Linked DNA regions of Homo sapiens: all the other regions are linked to region 4. Evidence: promoter capture Hi-C in 16 types of primary human blood cells and fetal thymus (Javierre and others, 2016). All regions are on one chromosome and are shown on one strand. Each heading gives the region's core, a stretch centred on a gene start or on the middle of the fragment in contact. The rest is flanking DNA. Distances are from core to core; before and after follow the strand shown.

Region 1 (3,171 bases), core at 107-2,606, 200 kb after region 4:
GCTCATTGCTGTGATTATTATTGCTATTGTTACTATGATTATTGCTCTTTGTTGTGACTATTATTACTATGATTATTGCTCATTACTATGATGATGGTAGTAATCATCATAGTAACACTGTGGGATTAATACTATATTTACATAATATGTATATATTATATATAATACATATACATAATTATATATTATACATATACATAATATAATATGTATATATTATAGTGTATATACATATATACATGTGTTTACCTATATACATATGTGTTTATACGTATATATAATGTATATAATACATAATATGTGTATATACGTAATACTTTAGTAATGAATAATCATAGATCATTTATGATCATTTATCATAGCTGTGGACAGCAGCTACTACATTTATAACCATGATTACTATGATCATTATTACTCATTACTACAATTATTACTATGGCTGTGATGATTGTTATTCATTCCTATGATTTTTACTCTTTACTATAATGATTATGAAGGTGATAGCCTTGAGTGTTATTAGTTGTTACTACCATGATTACTAACATTGTAGCCTGAACACGGGGCATTGCTCTCAGGGTGAGTTGTATGTGACAACCATTCGTTCATTTCATCGTCTTATTCTGTGTTCTCAGTGATCCTTGAGTTATTGCCAACAGATCATGAAAATGAATCACGGGAGGTTAAAACAGTGTCTCCCACACTTTTTCATGACACCTATAGAAAAGGACTCTGTGTTTGTATCACCATTGGGCAACAGGCAAGCCTCTAGTGGTCTGGGGTGACATGGGCCCCACTGAGCCATCCCAGGGCCTCACAGTGTTCACGTCTTGACACATCTGGGATCCATTCATGGCCGTGCTGGAAACATGGGACTGGGAAGGCCCAGGCTGGAGGAGGCAGCCTTCTCTGGCTGTGAGTATGGGAGGTTGGCCAGTGCCCCATGGGCCAGGTACCTAGTTCTGGAGCAGAGTCCCTGGTGCCCGGCTAATCAGGCCTGTCTATTTCCCTCTAGGTGTTAGAGGAGTCCAAATGCCTCGTGCGGAGCTTCCTGAAATCAGTGCTGGAAGACGTGAACGAGAAGGAATGCCTCATGCTCAAGCAGCTCTGGAGCTCCTCCAAAGGCCTTGACTCCCTTTTCAGCTACCTGCAGGACAAAATTTATGAAGTCTGAGGGGCCCCAGCTCACGGGCCCCCAACTTCCAGCTCTGCCCTGTGTTTCGGAAACCAGAGCACAGTGTCTGCCCCGGCCAAGGAGTTTGTCAAGGTGTCTCTTTATACGTAGGGTTGTGTCCATTTCCTCGTGTCCTTTGGTTGCTCCTCCTTGGTTTGATTTTGTGTAATGGATGGAAAACGCAGCATACTTGGCCTCCCCCACCTCCCTGCCCTTCCTGGCCAGAGAGCTGTCCAAGGCTGTATCTTCCCAGGGCTCCGCCAAGCACCGCTGTCCTTTCCCCACTTGCTGAAATGCACCATGACGGTCCAGGAAGGGGAAGACCACTTTCACATTCTTCTGACTCAGGCTGTGTCTACACAGTGCCTCTGACTTGGAGACTTGGCCATCATGGCTCTCTCTGGTTGTATTTAGATCGGGTGTCAGAGGACGACCAATCTTAGGGAATTTCCAGACCAATGAGCAAAATGATTGTGCACACCTGGCCTCAGTCTCCTTTCCGACGCAAATCTGTGTGACTATTAGGGCTTGGTCTTAAAACCCAATTGAGTGATTTGCAAACCCAGATATTGTACATTTAGAAATGTTTTGTTAAATATATATTTTTAAAACAATGTAAGTGGAAATTCTGATAATTTATGTGTATTATATGTAAAGCTAGTTTTGCAAAAACAAACTACTAGGGAAATGTTTTTTCTTTCCTTGGACTTGTTTTATTTATTTATTTTTGTTTATATATTGTGATGTCTGTTGTTCACACAGATACTATTTTCATACTACCCTGGACCAAATCCCACACAAGGTTCATGCCGTTTGGTGCATTCTAGCAATGAACCATGTAGAAATAAAGTTTAGAGAGATGAAAACAGAAGGATTTCTGTGGACAAAAGGAATAGCGCTGCACCTCTGTGTAAAACGGTTCTCAGCTGTAATAATAGAATACTAGTTCCTTAGGTTTGTCCTTAGGAGACATCTTGGGAGAGTTTTTTCTTCCCTCTGCTGTCTTTAAGGAGTTAAAGGGCCCTCTTAGCCTGAATGATCCTGAAACAGACCCAGTCCCAAATTGCGTGATGTTGGGCAGGAGTGGGGATAGGCCCTACCTGAGAATAGCATACTGTCTAGAATAAGACTTCTTTCTTTGGGGCAAATGACTGAACTTGGATCCTGCAGTCTGTTGCTTCCATGTGATCAGTGATTTCTGGTATTGGCCAGGGGGATGGGGAAGAGTTCCCACTCTGCTGAGCTGTCTGGAGGTCTGAATCTTTTCCCTCCAGAAGCTGAAATGACTCATCTGTTTTCTAGTTTTTTTATGTACATAGGGAGCAATGACCAGGAATGAGATCTCCTTGCCCCTGTGCCCCTGGGCTGCAAGGGGACTCCAGCAGCTGTGTTAGACCATCAGATTCAAGTCCCTGGATTAACTACAGAGAAGGAGGGATTGGGGGTTGTGGTTTTGAGTGGTGAGGAGAAAGTTCAGGAAAACCTGAAGTTGAGAGCAGACAAATGGAAGGGATGTGTTCTGCGTGAGGTTTAAACCATGGGTCAAGCACCCAGAAAAAGCTAGATTCTCAGATTCTCAGGATGGAGGGATTTTTTTCCGTTTCTATCACAGCCCCTGCGTATTCCTGGAGGCCCTTGGCCCTCCCCTTCTTCCCCTTTCCTGTTGGGCACCAGCCTTTCTTGGCCCTTCTTTGAAGAGAGTGGAATAAGGCAGCAAGAAGTGGGCACAGCTTATGGAGGTGAGGCAGGCTTAGAAGAGAGAGTTCTGGTGACAGTTCTCTAACTCTCTGTGGTCCTTTATCTTTTCCTGGCAATCAGGTGCACTGGGCAGGGCAGGTGGAATGTATTCGTGGCCCTGAGCTTTGAGTTTCAAAGAACACGTTGATAGTCTACACCAGATCTAGAGACATGGTCCTTTAAGCAGTGACCCTCAAGTTAATCTGGACTGCTGGTCCTTCTGATGACCTTGGTTCCCTCCCTGGAAAGCGTGTCTCCTTTAA
Region 2 (3,142 bases), core at 82-2,581, 240 kb after region 4:
ACTCTACACTGCGTTGCACACGTGCTCTAGGAACCTGGTTTGAGCCCAGGTTGTGTTCACACTGGGATCCAGGCACATCTAGCCGATGAATAAGCTGTCTCTATCAGAAATACGTTTGCATGCATGTTTAGGAGCTCCCAGGAAAGAACTCACCCTAAGTGAAGAGGAAGTCACGACAAGCAGGCTTAACTTGGTAAGACCACCTTCTCTGAGTGAAAGAACCATTCTGATTAGAGAATGAGGTCTATATCTAGGAAACTTTCTGAAATGTGAAAACTCAAAGAGTAGACTTCCCAAGGTGCCCAAACAGGACTCCCGTCTTCTAATTCCAGACGGACCTTGCAGGTGGCAATCGTGCATGGGAGGACATGGTGGTGGCAGGTGAGTGGGGTTGTATCCTCTAGTTCAGTGGTTCCTGTAGGAAGTGTCTGTGATGTTCAGAACTCAGTAGTTCTGGAAGGAATGGCATTGTCCTGTGGACATGTGAGTGCCAAGGGAAGAGGGTTGGAGGAGGTGTAGGGGAAGGTCATGGAGATGCCACATGGAAAATGGGTGGACTGGCTCACTGGCAGCCTGAGGCTCCCCTGGGAACTCACAAATGCTTGGGGGCATGAAACCTGGCTGGGGAATCAGGATTCCCTACTTTGGGTGGATTTTACAGGAGTCTGCTTTCTCTTTCTTTTAGTCAGGATGGGGGCATACCTTGACTTATATACAATAGTCCTTTTCTTCTCTCAGGGTTCCTGACTGTGGCTGTGGGTGGCCTGGACTTGGCAGTGGAGGGAGATTCATTCAGAGAAGAGCGATGGAGCTGCTATGTTCACCCACTTTCCCAATTATAGCCCCTCTCCTCCAGGGCATTTGCTGGGGGTGGGGGGTGGCGGAATAAAGTCCCCTGACTTGGAGTAGTGCTTCTCAAAGTTTAATGGGAATGAGAAAATCCTAGGAATCGGGTTAAATGCAGATTCTGACTCAGTAGGTCTGGGATAGGGCCTAGGATTCTGCATTTCTGACAAGCTCCCAAGTGGTGCTGGTGCTGCTCTTCCCTGACCACACTTGGAAAAGAAAGACACGAGAAGTGATAATCAGAATCCTGGGAATCTGGATTCTTAAGTACCAGGATTTTTAAGTATCATAACTTGCTGTTATGATCAGGCAAGTGTGGAAAACCCTGGAATAGATCATCTTGAAAAATAAGCTGAGATTTGAAAGGGTGTTTTTAATTCAAGTTTTTATGAAGTATCTACTTGGTGCTGGTTAGATCTGGGAGGGGCTTGGGACACTGTCCAGGTATATTGAGTGCTATGTGACTTTTCATTAAATAAAATTTGTGGGTTTTGGTGGGAGAAAATGCAGGGAGAAGATAGATCCTTGTTTGTAAGTCATTTCCAGATGTGAAGAGAGATGGGGAACCCACACAACTAACTGATTTTGCAGGAGGTGACCATGGTGGTAATTTCAGACACCTCCAAAGAAAGAATGAAGTCATCAGACTTGATGAGGGGAGTAAAACTGGAAGGATCTAGGGTGGCCTGACAGTATCAAAACTTTCAAAAGGCCATCCCAGTTCTGACTTTAACCATTGCAAATGCAGAATTTGTATTGCTTAGTTCAGTGGTTTCCTAAGTCTGCTTGTATAGCCCTGGGGTTCCATGAGACTCTGGTGAGGACCACTGTGTGTTAAGTGTGGAGTGGCCAAGGGCAGGATGAGAGAATGGCATGGAAAAGGAGCCCCGTCCTGCTTCATGGAGAGTAGCTTTGCTGGCCTTTGATCAAGGTTCTGTGTGAGCAAAGGCTACTGTTTCCTAAAGCAAGGTTTGAAAAGCCACTTGCCTAGAGCATGCCCTCCTTTGGGGTTCCTTCTGTCCAGATAGTGCTTTCTCTCTTCTTTCCACCGTAAACTCCTATTCCCCCTTTATAGTCCAGCTCAGGTGTGTCTGTCCTAATGCAGCTTTCCTTAAACACCATGCACACCAGCAGTCCTTTTTCTGCATTTCCACTGTCCCTCACTCATACTTCATGTGCTGCTATTAACTTACTGTATTGAACATGTACATCTCTGCATGCCTGTTTCCCTTATTACACCAGGAGCTCCTTTAGGCAGACCTGACGTCACCCATGTCTGTTCACGGGCATAAAGTGTGCCTGGCTTAAAGCAATTATGGTTAAATGCTTGCAGAATGGGATGCCACCTGGTTAATGGTTCTCTGATTAAGAAGCACACCTTCTTTCCGTTAGAGCCTTAGATGGAGCCAGCGTTTTTATTAATTCAAGATTTCATAAACGGTTAATAATCTCTCTTTGCCTCTCCTGGAAATTGCCAGGTTTGGCAAGAATAGGTAAACATGTCCGATAATATCCCCTTTCCTGTCCTCCTGCCCTCACTGACGGTGTTGTGCTTTTAATTTTTTTTCTTGGCGATACTAGACATTTACTTTCCTCCACTTCCCCTGAGATATGACCGAATACCCAATGCAAAGGTTCAGAGTTGGTGAACAACTTAAAGCTCATATTGAATACAAGATCTGGCTGCTGGCACCATTTGGGGCATTGCAGTCTGATGATTCTTTTCCCAGAGATGTGGGACTTGCTGATACAGGCCTCCCATTTATGCTCCCCAAAGGGTGCAGCTGAGATGGCTGGAGCCTGTTCTGAGAAGCCGGGCCTTCTGCTCTCCTGGCATTGATCAGGAGGCTCCAGATATTTCCTTGAGGCTATTCAAGAAGCAGAAAGTTGTGCAGGAGCAGATACAGAAGGAGGCCTGTGAGAGTCAGTGACCTGCCTTGATTCATTTTGCAATGTGAATTGAGAACTTCAAGCTTTGAAGCTGCTAATTAATTGGTCAGGATCCTGTCTTGAGTATTTTTAGGAGATTTAGCTAACTCTGTCTTCTTCAAAGGCACTGATTACCTTGGTGGACCTTTTTTGCAACCAATCTTGTGATCCAGGGAGCAGTGTTCCTAAAGTAGGAAAATAGGATGGGGATAAACATTGATCATTTAACCCTCAGACACTGGGCACCCACCATGTGCTAGATTTTTCTGCCAGGTACTGGGATAAGAATAAGGCAATGCAGAAGCTTAATGGACTGTCAAAAGCACAACAAGGCCAGGCGTGGTCGCTCACGCCTGTAATCCCACCA
Region 3 (2,892 bases), core at 140-2,639, 180 kb after region 4:
TTATTTCTGCTATGTAGAATTTGCCTCCGGTTAAATATTTGCCCTCTGTAGGTAAGCTTTCTTTTTCCTCTGGATGTATTTAAGGTTTTGCTTTGTCTTTGATGTTCTGAAGTTTAAATATGATATGTCTGTGCTTGCGTGTATTGTTATTTCTATTGCTTAGCTTTTTGTTGTAGTTCTTAAATTTTAGTATTCAAGTCTGTGGTAGATAGAAGCCCTCTCCCCAAGATGTTCATGTCCAAATCTCCAGAATCTATGACTATGCTAGGTTCCATGGCTAGGGGGATTTAAGGTTTCAGATATACAATTAAGGGTGCCAGTTAGCTGACCTTAAAATAGAGAGTATTCTAGACTACCTGGATGGGCTCAATGTAATCACAAGGGTCTTTAAATGTAGATGAGAGAAGCAGAAGAATCTGTCAGAGTGACACAAACTGAGAAGGTGAGGAAGACCCAGCTCGGCATTATTGCCTTTGATGATGGAGGAAGGGGCCAGGAACCAAGGAATGTGGGTGGCCTCTATAAGCTGGAAAAGGGAAGAAAATGATTCTCCCTTAGCGCCTCCACAAAGGAATGCAGTCTTGCTGACAACTTGATTTTAACCCAGTAAACCTGCATCAGACATCTGACCTAAGGGACTATAAGATAATAAGTTTATGTTATTTTATGCTGCCAAATTTATAGTAATTTTTTACAGCAGCCATAGGAAACTAGTGGATCTTTCATCAATTCTGTTAAATTCTCATCCTTTATCTCTTTCAATATTGACTTTCTCCTCTTCTCTGTGATCTCCTGATAGAATCCCTACAGCACCAATTTTAAATCTTAGCATTCTTGTCTTTAATCTCTCCGTTATATTTTCCATCTCTGTTTTTCTGTGCTACGTTTTGGTCAATTACTTCAGGTCTTTCAGTTACTTTATGCTCCCTTTAGCACCACCTAATCTGCTGTTGATCTCAGCAGATGTCCATGACTTTGTTTTTCATTTCCAGAAGTTTCTTTTTCTCCTCAAATCTATTTTTTCCCCATATTCTCCTGTTCTTTCCTTATTGTTCATGTCTGTTTTCCTCTCTGTGATTATTTGAAACATCCCTATTTTACAGTCTCTTTTGGATCCTTGTATTACTTGAAGTCATGTTATGTAATCCGCTCATTTGCTGAGTATGCCAACTTGTATTTCCCAAGTGTTTTGTGATTTTTGATTGTGAGCTCATCTCCTGCTAGGGTTTTTTTTCCTGTGTAATTCCCATGCGGTCTGGGTTGCAGCTTCTCCCCAGAGTACTTTTACATTCATTTCCATCAGACACCTCAGGGATATTACTAGCCTGTGTCCAATTTCTGTGTTAATTTTTTTATCTTGTGGATTCTTCCCCATGTGGGTGTGGTAACTCAGAACTTCAAATCCACATACAGGGCAGGTATGGAGTTTTAGCTTCTCATGGGAGAGTTTTCCTACAGCAAAAATAAATTATTTGCTGGAGTGGCTTGTCCTGACTGTGGTATGGCAAATAGGTAGCAGAAGGACTAGAAGGGCTGAGCCTGTTTGTGGTAAAGCCGATTCCATCATAGGCTTCCTGTCTCCAAAGCCTGTACCTTTTCAGCCTGGCCAACTGCCTTGAGTCCTTGTGAATACCAGGCACCCAAGAGACATTGTGTAGTCTAGATACGCAGTGTTGCTGCAAGGTTGTGATTGGAAGGAGTCGGGGAGTATGCAGGGGTGTGAGGGGGATTGCTTCAGTCAGTACACAGACTTGGAGGGTCTGGATGATGCTTGGGCCTCAGAACGTAGCATGTGGCAGGAGCTCACTTTCAGATCCTGGCTCCATCCTAAAATCCACAGTCTGGGAGGGGAGAAGGATCTGCTTTCCCCTGGGCATCACAGAGCTCATTTCCTGCTGCTCCCGTAGCCACACTGCTATCATGTGGAGGTCTTCAGATGAAAAGCCCTGATGCTTTGAGAGGCAGCCTAGCCTGCGGTGAAGGACATGGTCCCCAAAGTCTGACTTCCTGAGTCCTAGTCTAGCTCCACCCCATACTTGCAAACTTCTCACAGTGACTGTACTTTGATTTTGTCATTCATAAAATGGAGCTTCAACAAGTGACTCCCCCAGAAGGCTAAGTGAGTTCATATCGTAAAGCAGCACTTCTCAAACAATAACATGCATATGAATTTCCTGCAGGTCCCATGAACATGAAGAAACTCATCCTGTCGGTCTGGGCTGGGGTCCAAGACTCTGCATTTCTAGGCAGCTCCTAGGAATGTGAAGCTGCTGGTCTAAGGACCATACTTTGAGTAGTGAGGTTTGAAAGTGCTTGGGGCAGAAGCTGACCTGTTCCGTAGGGTCAGTATATAAACGGGGACATCTTGCAGGGTATGTGCCATGCACTGCACTAAGCAGTCTACTTGCATCTTGTTTGTTGGTTCATCTGAGGTAGCTCTGAATTTTACAAATAGGGAGACCAGGAGAGGCTATTGATTTCACCCCAGAACACCCAAGATACTGTGGGGTAGAAGTGGAGCTTGTGCCCAACCGTAGCCCCAGAGGCGCATGTGGACCTTCTGGAACCCCCTGTCATACGTCGGGGCTGGGGCTTTAGACTCTGCATTTCTGGCCACCTCCTGAGGGATGTGTTGCTGCTGTTCCAAGGACTACACTTTGAGCAGCGAAGTTTGAAAGTGCTTGGGGCAGACAGAGCTTGTACCATCTCCGCAGGAAGCTTTGAGCTGGCCAGTCTGTTAGTGCAGGCTCTGCCACTTCCTGACATGTTGCTTTGAGAAAGTCACCTTTCTCTCTGAGCCTCAGTTTCCCTTTCTATAAAATGGAGCTAATAATAATGCCCACCTCACAAGGGGTTGGGGGTGCAAGTACTCATGGGCAAGTGCTCTGTAAC
Region 4 (2,779 bases), core at 203-2,702:
AAATTTGTTATATTGGCATAGTTCGAAAAACAATCACTGTGTACCTACTCTCTCTCAGGAACAGTGGAAGATGCTTGCGATACAAAGATAAACAAGCCCCTATACGAAGAACAAGAATGTTCCAGATGGATTCAATGTGGAAGGACATTCTAGGCAGGGGGAACAGCAAATGCAAATCCATGTGTCCTGGAATGAGCCAGACATGCTTCAGGTTCCATGGAGTTTTTTTTTTTTTTTTTTTTTTTTGGATTAAAAAATTTGGTGACTTTTCAAAGTTTGACAACCTCAGGATTAAACAATTTATCGAGCCCCTCTGCCATCTCACTCTCCATGAGGGCAGTCCAGGTTGAGACTCAGATACAAATCACCTTTATTGAGTTCTGCTGGGATGGACAGGTCACTTCATGTATACGTAGATCCTCTCCTTAATTCTATTTAAATCACTTAGGTGACTATCACCATCTCCCATCAGGGTTCGGTGACCTGCCCACAGCCTCCCAAGTAGAAAATGATCCAGGGAGCATGTGAGTTAATGATACATCACATCTGGAGCCAGGCAGGCATTTCATGGGTGGGGATGAAGATCTTCCCTCCAATTTCAGAAGTCTGACCTTGCAGGTTCTGAAGTAACTATATACATAAATATTTATAAGGAGAACCCTTTAAGCAGAGGGGTGACCATTTATCCATGAGAGATGGCTTAGGAACGGATTTGGGTTTTGGAGAGCTTCTCTAGCTCCTCCAGCTCCGCAGCCTGTCACACGCAGGATGACCTTTTAGAACAACTGAGTGCTCCATTACACTCCTCACTTGCGGATTCAAACTGTCTCTGGGCAGGGTCCCAGTTTTGCCTGTCCAGGGACACTGTGCACTTGGGTTGACTTTGGTAAATGTTTGAGTAAGGGATGAGTGAATAAATTCGGGGAGAGGGGTTGTTGAGGGAAGGCCACCCCTGGCTCTAAAGACTTTCCAGGGTTTATGGGGTGGCCACGCCTGTCCTGGATCCCCATGGTGCCTCTGGATGGGCCATTTCATCCTTCCTCCCTGTGGCCTCCACATCTTACAACCCAGCCTGGAGGGAGGGGCCGCGCAGCCCCGAGGGGCCAGGTCTCCCAGGCGGCGTCCACTCCCCTCGAGGGTGGAGGAGGTAGGTGGGGACCCCGGGCCGGCGGGGCTCGGCTGGGGCCCCTTCCCTGAGGTCTGCAGCCGCAGCCCTCTACCTGGCTCCCCGGCCGCCCCTTCGCGGCCCCAGATCGGGCGCACCCGGCGGGCACCTGGCCCGCCGCCCCCCGGGGGCCCCGCCAGCTGCTCCCGAAGCCGGCCCGGGGTGGCGGGGCGGGCCCGAGCGCTAGTCGACTCTGGGACCGGTCCCCCGGGGCGCGGCCGGGCAGCAGCCCCCGCCTCCCCGCCCCGGGGGCCGGGCCGGGCTCCCGGGGGGCGGGGACTCGCCCAGTGGCAGCAGCGTCCGGGCCGGCGGCGGGCGCCGGGCGGCTTCCTGCAGGCGGCGCCGGGGCGAGCCGTTGCCGGCTGCAGCCACCGCCGCCGGGTCGCCGGGTCGCGGGGGCCGCGGCGCTCGGGCCGCGTCCGTGCCTCCCGGGCGCGCTGCGCGGCCGTCGCTGCTGCCCGCGCTCGTGCCGCCGCCGCCGCCGCCGCCGCTGCTGCCGGTTACGCCAGCCCCGCCGCCGCCCGCTCTGATTCTGCGCATAGGCAGCCCCCAAGCCTGTCATTCTGCAAAAACACAGTTTACTCAACACACCACACACACTCGCACACACACGCGCGCACACACACGCGCACACCGGACCCCGCGCGCACACGCACGGAGGGCGCGAGCGAGCAGACGCGCACACCGGCGAGCCAAGTTCCGCAGCCTGGCATGGCTTCTGGGGACCTTTACGAGGTACGGGGACGCGGGGGCGCGGGCCGGCCCCAGTCAGCGGGCGGCGGCGGGCGGCGGCGGCGGGCGGCGGGGACCGGGCCGGGGCCGGGGCCGGGCGCAATCCGGAGTTGCCGAGCCCGCGGCGGCGGCGGCGGCGGCCGGAGGGTGGCGGGGGCCGGGCGCGCCTCCCGCCCGCCGCCCGCCGCCCGCCGCCTCCCGCGGCGCCCGCGCCCGCTCCCTCTTTCTCTTTCTCTCGCACACACACTCTCTTACTCCATCTACTTTGCGGCCTTGGAGGGGAAGGAGGAAGCCGGGCGGAGCCGGGGCGGGGGAGGTAGCGGTCCCGGGGAGGTGTTTCTCGCCCGACGAGCCGCCTCGAGTACAGAAAGTACAGGTAAAAGTCGGCGCCGGACGTGCTGGGAATGCGGGGGGGCGCGCCGCGGCCGGCGGGGGTGTGGGGCGGGGGTTGCGCGGCCCGGCTGGGCCGGGGGCGCGGGGGAGGAGGGGGGCGGGCGATCGGAGCGGAGCCTGGCCGGGGCGAGGCGGGGTCCCGGGGGGCTGCGAAGGGGGAGGCTGGGTGGGGGTTCGGGGGGACAACCGCCAAACCGCTCCCCGGGGTCCCCGGGCCACCTCCCTCACCCCCCACCTGCTGCCCCCGCACCAGCTCGGACGCCCTCCGGGCTCGGGCGTGGGGGTGGCCCTTGCGGGTGTCGTGCTCCCTGGGGGCGAAAGGGGGCGCTGCGGAGGGCCCTGGGTGGGAGGAGAACGTGGAAGTCTGAGGTGTTGGGGACATAGGACACAGATGCCAGCCCAGCGCCCAGTACTCTCGTCACCCTCAGTGGATACCTGGCTCCAGGTCCTAATGAGTAGTGGCCAGCGTTGGATACTCTCATGTCTTCC

Evidence for each region. The method cuts DNA at HindIII sites, captures the fragments that hold promoters and counts their contacts. A CHiCAGO score of 5 or more calls a contact.
Region 1: a contact is called between a fragment that was not itself captured here and the fragment with the promoter of CDYL2 in region 4, in 2 of 17 cell types (endothelial precursors and erythroblasts). The highest score is 5.5, in endothelial precursors.
Region 2: a contact is called between a fragment that was not itself captured here and the fragment with the promoter of CDYL2 in region 4, in 4 of 17 cell types (megakaryocytes, non-activated CD4 T cells, endothelial precursors and 1 more). The highest score is 6.9, in megakaryocytes.
Region 3: a contact is called between a fragment that was not itself captured here and the fragment with the promoter of CDYL2 in region 4, in 2 of 17 cell types (endothelial precursors and megakaryocytes). The highest score is 15.7, in endothelial precursors.

The regions. Positions count from the first base shown.
Region 1 is chr16:80,602,388-80,605,558 of GRCh38, reverse strand. It overlaps CDYL2 (chromodomain Y like 2), which reads left to right. Exons shown (of 7, transcript NM_152342.4): 7 at 1,013-3,171. The coding sequence ends at 1,171. Among named protein-coding and RNA genes, the nearest start is that of LINC01227, 31 kb to the right of the region's middle. The HindIII fragment of the contact is 8,354 bases long and covers 1-3,171 here.
Region 2 is chr16:80,558,476-80,561,617 of GRCh38, reverse strand. All of the region lies in intron 1 of DYNLRB2-AS1 (DYNLRB2 antisense RNA 1), which reads left to right. Among named protein-coding and RNA genes, the nearest start is that of DYNLRB2-AS1, 3.1 kb to the left of the region's middle. The HindIII fragment of the contact is 2,980 bases long and covers 1-2,821 here.
Region 3 is chr16:80,622,887-80,625,778 of GRCh38, reverse strand. The region is part of intron 3 of CDYL2 (chromodomain Y like 2); the gene reads left to right. Among named protein-coding and RNA genes, the nearest start is that of LINC01227, 52 kb to the right of the region's middle. The HindIII fragment of the contact is 2,662 bases long and covers 59-2,720 here.
Region 4 is chr16:80,803,271-80,806,049 of GRCh38, reverse strand. CDYL2 (chromodomain Y like 2) reads left to right here and starts at 1,452. Exons shown (of 7, transcript NM_152342.4): 1 at 1,452-1,900. The coding sequence starts at 1,877. RefSeq lists silencers at 1,172-1,231, 1,252-1,561, 2,172-2,241, 2,522-2,671. The HindIII fragment of the contact is 3,614 bases long and covers 1-2,779 here.